Regions from separate parts of the Homo sapiens genome. Here region 2 is linked to region 1. The links are contacts of gene promoters, found by promoter capture Hi-C in blood cells and fetal thymus (Javierre and others, 2016). All regions are on one chromosome and are shown on one strand. The core of a region is centred on a gene start or on the middle of the fragment in contact, and the rest is flanking DNA. Distances in the headings are between cores, read along the strand shown. Region 1 holds the start of SPPL2C (signal peptide peptidase like 2C). Region 2 holds the start of LRRC37A3 (leucine rich repeat containing 37 member A3).

Region 1 (6,122 bases), core at 2,181-4,680:
TAGCATAATGTGTTTCGGCTTAGCATAATGTTTTCAAGGTCCATCCACATGGTAGCAGGTATCAAAACGTCATTCCTTCTTATGGCTGAATGCTATTCCCTTGTGTGGAGAGACCGCAGTTTCTCCATTCATCAGTGGATGGACATATGGGTTCTCTCCACCTATTCCAAGTTATCATGAATAGTCCTGCTATGAGCATGCATGTACACGCTTTTGTTTGAAGGCCTGATTTCAATTCTTTGGGATATATAGCTGGGAGTATAAGTGCTGGGTCATATGATAACTCTGCTTAACTTATCTAGGAACCACCAAGCTGTTTCCTGCAGCGGCTGCACAATTTTCCATTCCCACCAGCAGTGTATGAGGGTCCCAACTTCCCTATATCCTCGACAAAGCTTGTGATTGTCTGGGTTTTGTGACAAAGTGGGTGTGCTGGTTCTTGTTTTTTAAAAGATCCACGACTCCCTGCGTGGAGAACAGGGCCTGGAGTGAGGGTCTAGGTTGCCCATTCGTTGCTGGGGGGCCAGAAAGGGTTTTACTGTCACAGCCCTCCTGTGGCCTACAGGCGAGCCTCCCTCTCCTAACCACCCTCCTGCCAACCTCCCCTTTGAAATGGGAGCACTCGGAAGGGACAGCTGGCAGCCTCCTCCCCTGGGCTCTGCCTGCTTCTCCTCACACCGGCTGGTGGTTTGTTTGCCAGTCACTTGTATTTGTTCCTGAACATGTTTCTGACAGTTCACTTGTCATTGTAATTACTGTCGTAATCTAACTAAATGTTATATTACTGATGAATCAGAAGTGCACTAACAAGGAGAGATGTTTCTTATGAAAATTCAGTCTAATGCTTTGAAGGATACTTTACAAATGAGTCACCAAAAATATTGGCAAATTAGGTGTGGGTGAGATGAGTGTAAATAACTGGGTGAGAGAGAATTGTCAGAATCTCAGATGGGTTCCACTTGCTGACCACTTCACATGGCCCTTTAAACTCACCCTCCACTTCAAAGAATCCACAGCTGATGTTGGAGATGATGTTTCATCCCTGTGGATTTCCCAAGGAAAGCAGTTTGGGACTGCAAGAGATGGACCCGTAATAGAAGGAGAGGCCTTGACAGGCACGGTGGCTCACGCCTGTAATCCCAGCACTTTGGGGGACCAAGGTGGCTGGATCACCTGAGGCCAGGAGTTTGAGACCAGCCTGGCTAACATGGTGAAACCCCATGTCTACTAAAAATACAAAAATTAGCCAGGTATGGTGGTGGGCGCCTATAATCTCAGCTACTTGGGAGGCTGAGGCAGGAGAATCGCTTGAACTTGGGAGGTGGAGGTTGCAGTGAGCCAAGATTGTGCCACTGCACTCCAGCCTGCCTAGGGGACAGAGTGAGACTCCATCTCAAAGAGAAAAGAAGGAGAGTCCTTGAGAAAGATCAGTGATTGGCCAGGCACAGTGGCTTGTGCCTGTAATCTCAGCACCTCGGGAGGCTGAGGTGGGCGATTCACTTAAGGCCAGGAGTTCGAGACCAGCCTGGGCAAAATGGTGAGACACCATCTGTACTAAAATCACAAAAATTAGCTGGGCATGGTGGCACACACCTGTAATCCCAGCTACTCGGGAGGCTGGGTCGGGGGAGAATTGCTTGAAACCAGGAGGTGGAGTTTGCAGTGAGCTGAGATCGTGCCACTGCACTCCAGCCGAGCAACAGAGCAAGACCCTGTCTCAAAAAAAAAAAAAAAAAAAAATCAGCATGCTTACTCCTTAGAGGTTAAAATTACATGTGTGTTGTGGGGCTGCCCACAATTGTGCCCCCAAATAGGCATGTTGAAGTCCTAAACCCCAGTACCTGTTAATGCGACCTTATTTGGAAGTAGGGTGTTTGCAGACATAATCAAGTTAAGATGGTGTCATTAGGGTGGGCCCTAATCCATTATAACTATGTCTTTATAAAGAAGAGAAGAGACACAGAGACACACAGGGAGAATGCCATGTGACAACCTATGCAGAGACTGGAGTGACAGGCCAGGCCAGTGGGGAGAACATGAGGACAATGGAACCTGGACTGCCAAGCTCCAGCCCCCAAATCCCTCCCTTCTGGTTCCGGAGGCCCCAGGGTTACTCTCCCGCACACTAACTGCTTTGAAAACCTCATTCCTCAAATCTACTCCATCATGGGTGGCCTGAAGAAGCCTGGACAGGAGGTCCTGGGTGACCTGTGAGGGCATACACCACAGAGCTGGGTGCAAACCTGCAGAGCCAAAACCTGGGGCTCCTGGCTTCAAATCCACCTCTCACCAGTATTTGAGTTCTCTTTCCAGCGGAAAGTCTGCCCGGCCTCAGAGTTGCAGCCAGGAGAGTGGCTCAGAATCCAGCATGAAAACATTTGGAAGACATCAAGGTCCATTTAACCAGCACAAGAGCCCCAGCCTTCTTTGCTGTGTCAATGTGGGCTTCTCCAAGCCTCAGTTTTACTTATCCATGAAGTGGGTGTATTAAGGTAACGTTAAGTGGCTATAACAAAGAGACTCATGACAAATCAATGCCTTAAGGAAGATCATGTCTCTCTCTTGTAACAGTCCATAGTGCACATCCTGGGCTACTGTTCCACATGGAATCCAGGGACCTGGTTCCCTTCACTTTCTTCCTCTCCATTCCTTAGGACATTGTCCTCCTCGTCATAGACAGACACATCACAGGCCCGTCCTTGTTCTGACTCCTGAGAAAGGGAAAGAGAGGGTAAACCAGGAGCCCCACGGTCTGTCAGCCTAAGCCCCTGATGTAAAGAGTTCACATCATTTTTGCTTAATTTCTCCTGGTCACCTGTCCGTTCCCAACTGTAAATGGAGTTGGAGGTGAATTCTGGTCATGTGCCTGGTAGAAATGGGGACCAACTTTGAGGGACAGCCTCAGGCTGTGCAGATATAATGACACCTCCTTGCAACTGTGCAATAGGTACAGCTAGGGTACCTGGCGCCTAGTAAGCCCTCGGTAAAAGTGCTCAATGTTACTGAGCTCAGAGCTCCAAGGGACCTTAGAAACTCTCTGGCCCAACGTCCTCATTTCTTTACAGCTAAAGAAACAGGCCTAGAGAGGAGTGACATTGGCCTGTGTTCCCCATGGGTAAGGAGAAAAGTTGGTTCAGAATCCTATCTGGCCTGCAAACCCCATGCTCACACCTTTTATTTCAAAGTACCTGGTCTAAACCCACTAGGGTCTGGGCAGAGAGCAGGGTCCATATGACCTCTCCCCTGGTCTCCCAGGGTTGGGGGGCATCATTCTAGAGGGACCCTGTGCCCCACAGCAGCGCCCTCGGCTGGGGACCACACAGCTTTATGACTAGGTAGGTGTGGCCCTGGTTTCCAGGACAGGTGGCCAGACTGCTCTGTGACAAAGGGCCACGCCTGCCCCTGGGAGGGGTATTGGGCTGCCGCCCGCAGATGTTGCAGTAGGAACTGAAGAAGATGGCGTGCCTGGGCTTCCTCCTCCCCGTGGGCTTCCTCCTCCTCATCAGCACCGTGGCCGGGGGAAAGTACGGCGTGGCCCACGTGGTGTCGGAGAATTGGAGCAAGGACTACTGTATCCTGTTCAGCTCCGACTACATCACCCTCCCCCGGGACCTGCACCACGCCCCACTCCTGCCCCTGTATGATGGCACCAAGGCACCCTGGTGCCCGGGTGAGGATTCCCCCCACCAGGCCCAGCTCCGCTCCCCCAGCCAGCGGCCCCTCCGCCAGACCACTGCCATGGTCATGAGGGGTAACTGCAGCTTCCACACGAAAGGCTGGCTGGCTCAGGGCCAAGGTGCCCACGGGCTGCTCATCGTGAGCCGGGTCAGTGACCAACAGTGCTCAGACACCACCCTGGCACCCCAGGATCCCCGCCAGCCCCTGGCAGACCTCACCATCCCTGTGGCTATGCTCCACTATGCTGACATGCTGGACATCCTCAGCCACACTCGTGGGGAGGCCGTCGTCCGCGTGGCCATGTACGCACCCCCAGAGCCCATCATCGACTACAACATGCTGGTCATCTTCATCCTGGCTGTGGGCACAGTGGCTGCAGGCGGCTACTGGGCCGGCCTGACCGAAGCCAACCGGCTACAGCGGCGCCGTGCCCGAAGAGGAGGGGGGTCTGGTGGTCACCATCAGCTGCAGGAAGCTGCAGCAGCTGAGGGAGCCCAGAAGGAAGATAATGAGGACATCCCAGTGGACTTCACGCCGGCCATGACAGGCGTGGTGGTCACCCTGTCCTGCTCGCTCATGCTGCTGCTCTACTTCTTCTATGACCACTTTGTCTATGTCACCATTGGGATCTTTGGCCTGGGTGCTGGCATTGGCCTCTACAGCTGCCTGTCACCCCTGGTGTGCCGCCTGTCCCTGCGGCAATACCAGAGGCCTCCGCACAGCCTCTGGGCCTCTCTGCCGCTGCCTCTGCTGCTGCTGGCGAGCCTGTGCGCAACCGTGATCATCTTCTGGGTGGCCTACCGCAATGAGGACCGCTGGGCGTGGCTCCTGCAGGACACACTGGGCATTTCCTACTGCCTGTTCGTCCTGCACCGTGTGCGGCTGCCCACTCTCAAGAACTGCTCCTCCTTCCTGCTGGCCCTGCTGGCCTTTGATGTCTTCTTTGTCTTCGTCACCCCCTTCTTCACCAAAACCGGTGAGAGCATCATGGCGCAGGTTGCCTTGGGCCCTGCAGAGTCTTCAAGCCATGAGAGGCTGCCCATGGTACTCAAAGTGCCCCGGCTAAGAGTCTCCGCCTTGACCCTGTGCAGCCAGCCCTTCTCCATCCTTGGCTTCGGTGACATTGTGGTCCCCGGCTTCCTGGTTGCTTACTGTTGCCGCTTTGATGTGCAAGTCTGCTCCCGTCAGATCTACTTCGTGGCCTGCACCGTGGCCTATGCTGTGGGCCTGCTGGTCACATTCATGGCCATGGTCCTCATGCAGATGGGCCAACCTGCCTTGCTCTACCTAGTGTCCAGCACCCTGCTCACCAGCCTGGCTGTGGCTGCCTGCCGCCAAGAGCTCAGCCTCTTCTGGACTGGCCAGGGCAGAGCTAAGATGTGTGGGCTCGGCTGTGCCCCTTCAGCTGGCTCTAGGCAGAAGCAGGAGGGCGCAGCAGATGCCCACACAGCCAGCACACTTGAGAGAGGCACCAGCCGAGGAGCAGGGGACTTAGACAGCAACCCTGGAGAAGACACCACTGAGATTGTCACCATATCTGAGAATGAAGCCACCAATCCAGAGGACCGCAGTGATAGCTCCGAGGGCTGGAGTGACGCCCACTTGGATCCTAATGAGCTGCCCTTCATCCCCCCTGGGGCCTCGGAGGAGCTGATGCCACTGATGCCAATGGCCATGCTGATCCCACTCATGCCCCTGATGCCCCCGCCCTCAGAGCTGGGCCATGTCCATGCCCAGGCCCAGGCCCACGAGACTGGCCTGCCCTGGGCGGGACTCCACAAGAGGAAGGGTTTGAAAGTAAGAAAGAGCATGTCGACCCAGGCTCCCTTGTGAACTGGAGGCACTGGGACACACGCCTCTCAAAGGGCTGGTGGAACATTGCAGAGCAAAGCCATGCATGGCAACAAGAAATCAGGGTATCAAAGAGATTTCATATCTACCCAAGGAGTCTCTCTGTTTGTCGGGAGTGCAAGAGAGCAGCAACCACATAATAAGAGTGTGCAGGGCTCGAAGGGTCCTTAGGAGTGGGCACCACCCCCAAATAATGAAGGGGGGAAACTGAGGCTCCAAGAGGGCCTATGACTTGCACAAGTTCAAGCGGCAAGGTCGGGATTTGCATCCAGGGCTCACTGGGCAGCTACTCCCCTCTGCCTGCTTGCCCAACCCCTTCCCAATCCAGAGTGGCAGCTTCTTAGCCTGGCACACAGCCCCCATCCCATCCCTGCCACCCACCCTAGGCTCATTGCCCATCTTCTCTCCATGCTCAGGTCAAACAGAACTCCTTGTCCTCCCCACCCGCTCTCTCTGCATATGCTGTTCCCTCCAGCTGGGATGCCCTTCCCTCTCCAGACAGAAACACTCCAGCCTGGCTCCCTGACTCACTAGAAGATTCCGAAGCATCCTTTACTCCTCAGCTCACATCCATTCTGCAAAACGTCTCTGTT
Region 2 (5,640 bases), core at 1,358-3,857, about 19 Mb after region 1:
GAAGGGAAAGCGGCCGGGAAGGGGCGGGCGCAATGGGCGCAGTGGGGGCGGCCGGGGCCGGGTGGGGAGGCCAGAGGGGCAGGGCAGGAGGGGCCCGGCCTGCGGAAGCGGTTGGAGGGAGAAGGCTCAATCCGAATGGCTGGGGCCTCACTGCGGATCGCCTTCAGCCGCCATCTTGTTTCTTCCGTTACCGGAGCGCGGTCACGTGAGCTGAGCAGCCTACGAGCCTGGGACGGGGCGAGGTGGCGCGGCGGCCGCTAGGGGGAGCGCGGGAGCATTGAGTCGGGGGCGGAGAGCCTGGGGCGCCGGGGCTGGGCGCAGCGCGGCGCGGCTGGACTCCGGGCGCGGTGGCGCCGTTGAGAGAGACGCGCAGCTCGCGAAATGCCCCGCGGCTAAGGCCTTCGGAGACCATAGTCTCCGCGGACCCCTGGCTGGAGCCCAAAGCCGGCCGGACCTCCTCCCTGCGTCTCCCCTTCCGCGGCTCGGAGAGGAAGGCAGGAGAGCCCCCAAATATTCCCCTCCCGCCCCCTAGGGAAACTGAAGCTGAAAGAGCCAGCGAAAGAAAAAAAAAGTCTCGGAGTGGGGCGGCCCGAGCGACCTAAGGGACGGGGCAGCGCCAGCGACCGAGGGAAATTAGTCGGGGTGGGGGAACAGGGAGACAAGCCCCCAGAATTTAGGAAACTCCTAAATTCTACTAAAAATACAAAAATTACCTGGGCATGGTGGCGGGTGCCTGTAATCCTAGCTACTGAGGAGGCTGAGGCAGAAGAATCGCTTGAACCCCTGAGGTGGAGGTTGCAGTGAGCCAAGATTGCGCCATTGTACTCCAGCCTGGGCTGCAAGAGTGAGACTCCTTCTCAAAAAATAAAATAAAATAAATCAAGAAAAGTCTGGAAACCATGCCAACTGGTGAAATGAATAAAGAAATAAATGTTGTCTGGACTGAGTGGCTCACACCTCTAATCCCAGTACTTTGGAGGCCGAGGCGGGCAGATCACTTGAGGCCAGGAGTTCAAACCAGTCTGGGCAACATGGTGAAACCCTGTCTTTTCTACAATTGCAAACAAATTAGCCGGACGTGGTGGTGCATGCCTGTAATCCCAGCTACTCGGGATGCTGAGGCCCGAGAATCGCTTGAACCTGGGAGGCAGAGGTTGCAATGAACTAAGATAACGCCACTGCACTCCAGCCTGGGTGACAGAATGAGACTAGGTCTCAAAAAAAAAATTATAATTCAGTAACATAGTCAGTTACAAGATAAACATTGAGCCTGCCTCCTAGGTTCAAGCGATTCTCATGACTCAGCCTCCCGAGTTGCTGAGATTACAGGCGTGTGCCACCATGCCTGGATAATTTTTTGTACTTTTAGTGCAGACGGTGTTTCACCATGTTGGTCAGGCTGGCCTCCAACTCCTGACCTCAAGTAATCCACCCACCTCAGTCTTCCAAAGTGCTGGGATTACAAGCGTGAGCCACTGTGCCCGGCCTCAATTTGGGTTTTTATGGAAGCTTCATTACAGAGTCATTAATGATTACACCGTTGGCCGTTGGTGGTCAGCTTAACCTTCAGCCTCTCTCTCTTTCTCAGAGGTTGAGAGTGGCACTGAAAGCCCTGACCACCAGCCCCAATCCTGAGGCTGTCTAGGAAAGCCTAATCAGTCAATCATTAGCATAAAAAAAAGACTTATTTTGCAGATTCTGAGGGTTTTAGGAATTGTATGCCAGGAACCAGGAAGATCAAATACGTGTTTCACAGTCTCACAGGACCACATAGAGGAGATTGGTCATCAGTGTTTCTCAACAGAAGCGCTTTGGCCTTTTGGACAAGCCAGTTTACACACTGTAGGAAGAAGTTTAGCATCTCTGGGCCCGGATACCAAAGGCTAGTACCAGCCTCATCATTTTTACAACCAAAAAGGTAACCTTGCCCGCTCCCCATACATTCCCACTAGGAGGTGTCAGAACCACTTCCGGCTGAGAACCACTGGAATACATTTTGGAATATCCAAAAAATGTACTTCCATTTTAAGAAAATAATGTGGGATTGGTGTTTTTCATTTTTTAATTATTTGGAGGAAATTGCCAATGACAAGTGCTTGAACAAAAAATCCAAATTACAGACTAGTGTATATATAGTGTGATGTATCCATTCAATTCACTCAGGAAATGTTTATTTAACACTTAAGGTGTGCCATGCACTGTTTCCATTCCACATTCTGTACAGAGTGGGAAAATATTTGTAGTTTATATCCTTTATATGTAAATAAATAGGTCAGTTGCACTTCAAAGCCAACAAATAAAAGTGATCTCTAAATCTAAACCCCAAAGACAATCATTTTTAAACAACTTTAGAATATATCTTGTATATATTGTTTTAATGCATGTGTTCATATATAAACACATTTTATACAAAAACAATCTAATGAGGAAGAAAAATTATACTTTGGGAAAGAAGGAGCCGGGTGCAATGGTTCACGTCTGTAATCCCAGCACTTTGGGAGGCCAAGGGAGGTGAATCACATGGCGCCAGGAGTTCAAGACCAGCCTGGCTGACATAGTGAAACCCCATCTCTACAAAAATACAAACATTAGCTGGGCGTGGTGGCGCACACCTGTAGTCCTGGCTACTCCGGAGACTCAGGCAAGAGAATCGCTTGAACCTAAAAGGCAGAGGTTGCAGTGAGGCGAGATCGCGCCACCACATTCCAGCCTGGGCGACAGAGTGAGACTCTGTCTCAAAAACAAAAACACATTATTGCTAAGGTAATTTGCTTTTGAGTTCAAGACCAGCCTGACCAACATGAGGAAACTCCGTCTCTGCTAAAGTTTCAAATATGTATAAGTACTGGCATATTTTAAAAATACATTTTATTTTCTTTTTAGTTTATAAGATATGTGATTCCTTCTTTACATCTACCTATTTTTATTTCTGCCTCTTTTTTTAAATAGGGTTAATTTTTTTTTTTTAAATGGAGTCTTGCTCTGTTGCCCAGGCTGGAGGGCGTAGGGCTGCCTCTGCTCACTGCAATCTCCGCTTCCCGGGTTGGAGCAATTCTCCTGCCTCAGCCTCCTGAGTATCTGGCATTACAGGCACCTGCCACCATGCCCAGCTTTTTTTGTATTTTTAGTAGAGACGGGGTTTCACCATGTTAGCCAAGCTGGTCTTGAACTCCTGACCTCAAGTGATCCTCCCTCCTCAGCCGCTCAAAGTGCTGGGATTACAGGTGTGAGCCACCATGCCCGGCCTGTCAAATTGCTCTATAATTTCATTTGGAGTGAATTCAGATTAGACCATTGATTTTATTGGCTTTTTTTTTTTTTTGCTTTTTGAGAAGCAGGGCCTTATTCTTTTTCCTAGGCTGCAGTGCAGTGGTGCAATCACACCCCATCGCAGCCTCCCCCTACCCAGATCAGTAAGTCCTTCCGCCTCAGGCTCCCAAGTAGCTGGGACTACAGGCGCGTGCCCTGCCACCATCTCTGGCTAATTTTGGGGTGTTTTTTGTTGTTATTGTTGTTGTCATTGTTTTTTTGTAGAGACAAGGTTTTGCCATGTTGCCCAGGCTGGTCTCAAACTCCTGGGCTCAAGCAAGTGATCTTCCTTCCTTGACTTCCCAAAGTGCTGGGATTATAGGCATGAGCCACCGTATGGGCCCTGGTTATCTTTTTTTCATATTACACATTTTCATTTTCAAACATTTGAATTTTGCAAGCTTATTTTGAGTGAGAGGAGTGTTGTTTTCTTCTCTCCTGAAGCCCAGTGTAGCCCAGTCAACCCTTAACTTCCAGCAGGGAGCCAGCGCTTATCACTGCCTCACACACAGCATGTTAGCCTCCCTTATCCCCGAGAAACTCATACTGTTAGTGTTCAGCCACCACTTCCTCCTTCTGCATCTGGAGTCTAGAAGGCCTGCAGTTTTAGTCCTGCTCACAGTTTTGTGTCTGTTCCGTTGAGATTGTTGTAACTTATTTAAGCATGACTATGTCTTTTCAATTTCTCTTTTTTATATTTTACTCTCACTTGTATGTTCTTGAAGGGAGAGGGAGGATCAAAGTGTGCGCCCGCTATACCATCTTGGTTTTCCCAAAATCTGTCCCACGATGTTATAAAAATATATGAACTAGGAAATGAAACTCAAGGTTTTCTTTCTAACCAAGGAAGAAGTTCAGTCTCTCTCTATAAATAGAGAAGGGCTGTTGAATAATTTGTCACATTGCTTCTCTTTTGACTTTATAAGACTAGATAGTCTATAGACAGAGAAACAGTTTCATTAAACCAGGGCCATTCAGGTTTATTTGGTAAAATATTTGTGATATATTTAAAAGCTTCCTGAGGTACTCATGTAATGATTGTTACTAGTATAATTGGTGCATAGGGCTGGGTGACCCTGCAAAAAAAGAGGCACAGCAAACTTTATTTCAGGTACAGATGGACCTTACCTTTAGGCAAATCCTTGAAATTTTGGCGTGGGGAATCAGGTTTTTCTGTGGGTTTTTTGTTTGTTTTTGGCTTTTCATAGACAGCTATATGAAGTCTCTGCTTTAGAATCTATAAAACTATAGCTTCAGAGGCTGGGCGAAATGGCTCATGCCTATAATCCCAGCACTTTGGGAGGCTGAGGTGAAAGGATCACTTGAGGTCAGGAGATCGAGACCAGCCTGGCTAACAGGGCGAAACCCCGTCTGTACTAAAAATGCAAAAATTAGCCAGGCATGGTGGCAGGCACCTGTAATCCCAGCTGCTTGGGAGGCTGAGGGAGGAGAATCACTTGAACCCAGAAGGCGGAGGTTGCAGTGAGCCGAGATCATGCCACTGCACGACAGAGCGAGACTCCATGTCGAAACAAAAAACTGTAGCTTCAGAGATTCACTTAAATTATCATTTATAGGCCAAGAGAGTTGTGGCTCACAGCCTGTAATCCCAGCATTCTAAAAGGCTGAGGTGGGTGGATCACTTGAGGCCAGGATTTTGAGACCAGCCTGGGCAACATGGCAAAACCCTGTTTCTACAAAAAGGAATTTGCTGGGTGTTGTGATGCACACCTGTAGTCTCAGCTACTTGGCGAGGCTGAGGCCAGGGGACTGCTTGACCCCAGGAGGTCGACCCTGCAGTGAGCCATGATAGCACCACTGTACTCTAGCCGGGGCGATCAAGTGAGGCCCTATCTCCAAAAAAAAGTTTTGTTTTGTTTTGTTTTAACAGGGTCTCACTTTGTCATCTACATTGGAGCACAGTGGTGCCATCACAGCTCACTGAAGTCTTCACCTCTCAGGCTTAAGGGAGCCTCCAACCTCAGCCTTCCAAGTAGTTGGCACTACAGGCATGCGTCACCACACCTGGCTCATTTTTGTATTTTTTAGTAGAGATGGGGTTTCACCATGTGTCCAGGCTGGTCTTGAGCTCCTGGACGCAAGTGATCTTCCGCCCTCGGCCTCCCAAACTGCTGGGATTACAGGTGTGAGCCACTGTGCTGGACGAATTTTTTTAAAGAAGGAAAAATAAAATTAATTCGGCCCTTCATTAAAAAAATTAAAAACTCTTTAAAGGAAACGTGGGCTAAGTTATTTTTCTGAGAGACTATAAGATTTGGGAAGAAAAATAATCATGATGAAACGTTTTGGGAATATTTTTGGTATTTAAAA

Evidence for each region. Contacts are between HindIII fragments. The CHiCAGO score rates a contact against its expected background, and 5 or more counts as called.
Region 2: a contact is called between a fragment that was not itself captured here and the fragment with the promoter of SPPL2C in region 1, in 4 of 17 cell types (endothelial precursors, M0 macrophages, M2 macrophages and 1 more). The highest score is 13.4, in endothelial precursors.

Annotation. Positions count from the first base shown.
Region 1 is chr17:45,841,451-45,847,572 of GRCh38, forward strand. SPPL2C (signal peptide peptidase like 2C) reads left to right here and starts at 3,431. Exons shown (of 1, transcript NM_175882.3): 1 at 3,431-5,617. The coding sequence starts at 3,457. The coding sequence ends at 5,511. It overlaps MAPT-AS1 (MAPT antisense RNA 1), which reads right to left. Exons shown (of 2, transcript NR_024559.1): 2 at 1,906-2,711. RefSeq lists enhancers at 3,353-4,337, 4,338-5,321. The HindIII fragment of the contact is 7,159 bases long and covers 394-6,122 here.
Region 2 is chr17:64,919,280-64,924,919 of GRCh38, forward strand. LRRC37A3 (leucine rich repeat containing 37 member A3) reads right to left here and starts at 199. Exons shown (of 15, transcript NM_199340.5): 1 at 152-199. RefSeq lists silencers at 1-88, 189-408 and enhancers at 24-524, 600-1,101, 1,102-1,601. The HindIII fragment of the contact is 2,201 bases long and covers 1,508-3,708 here.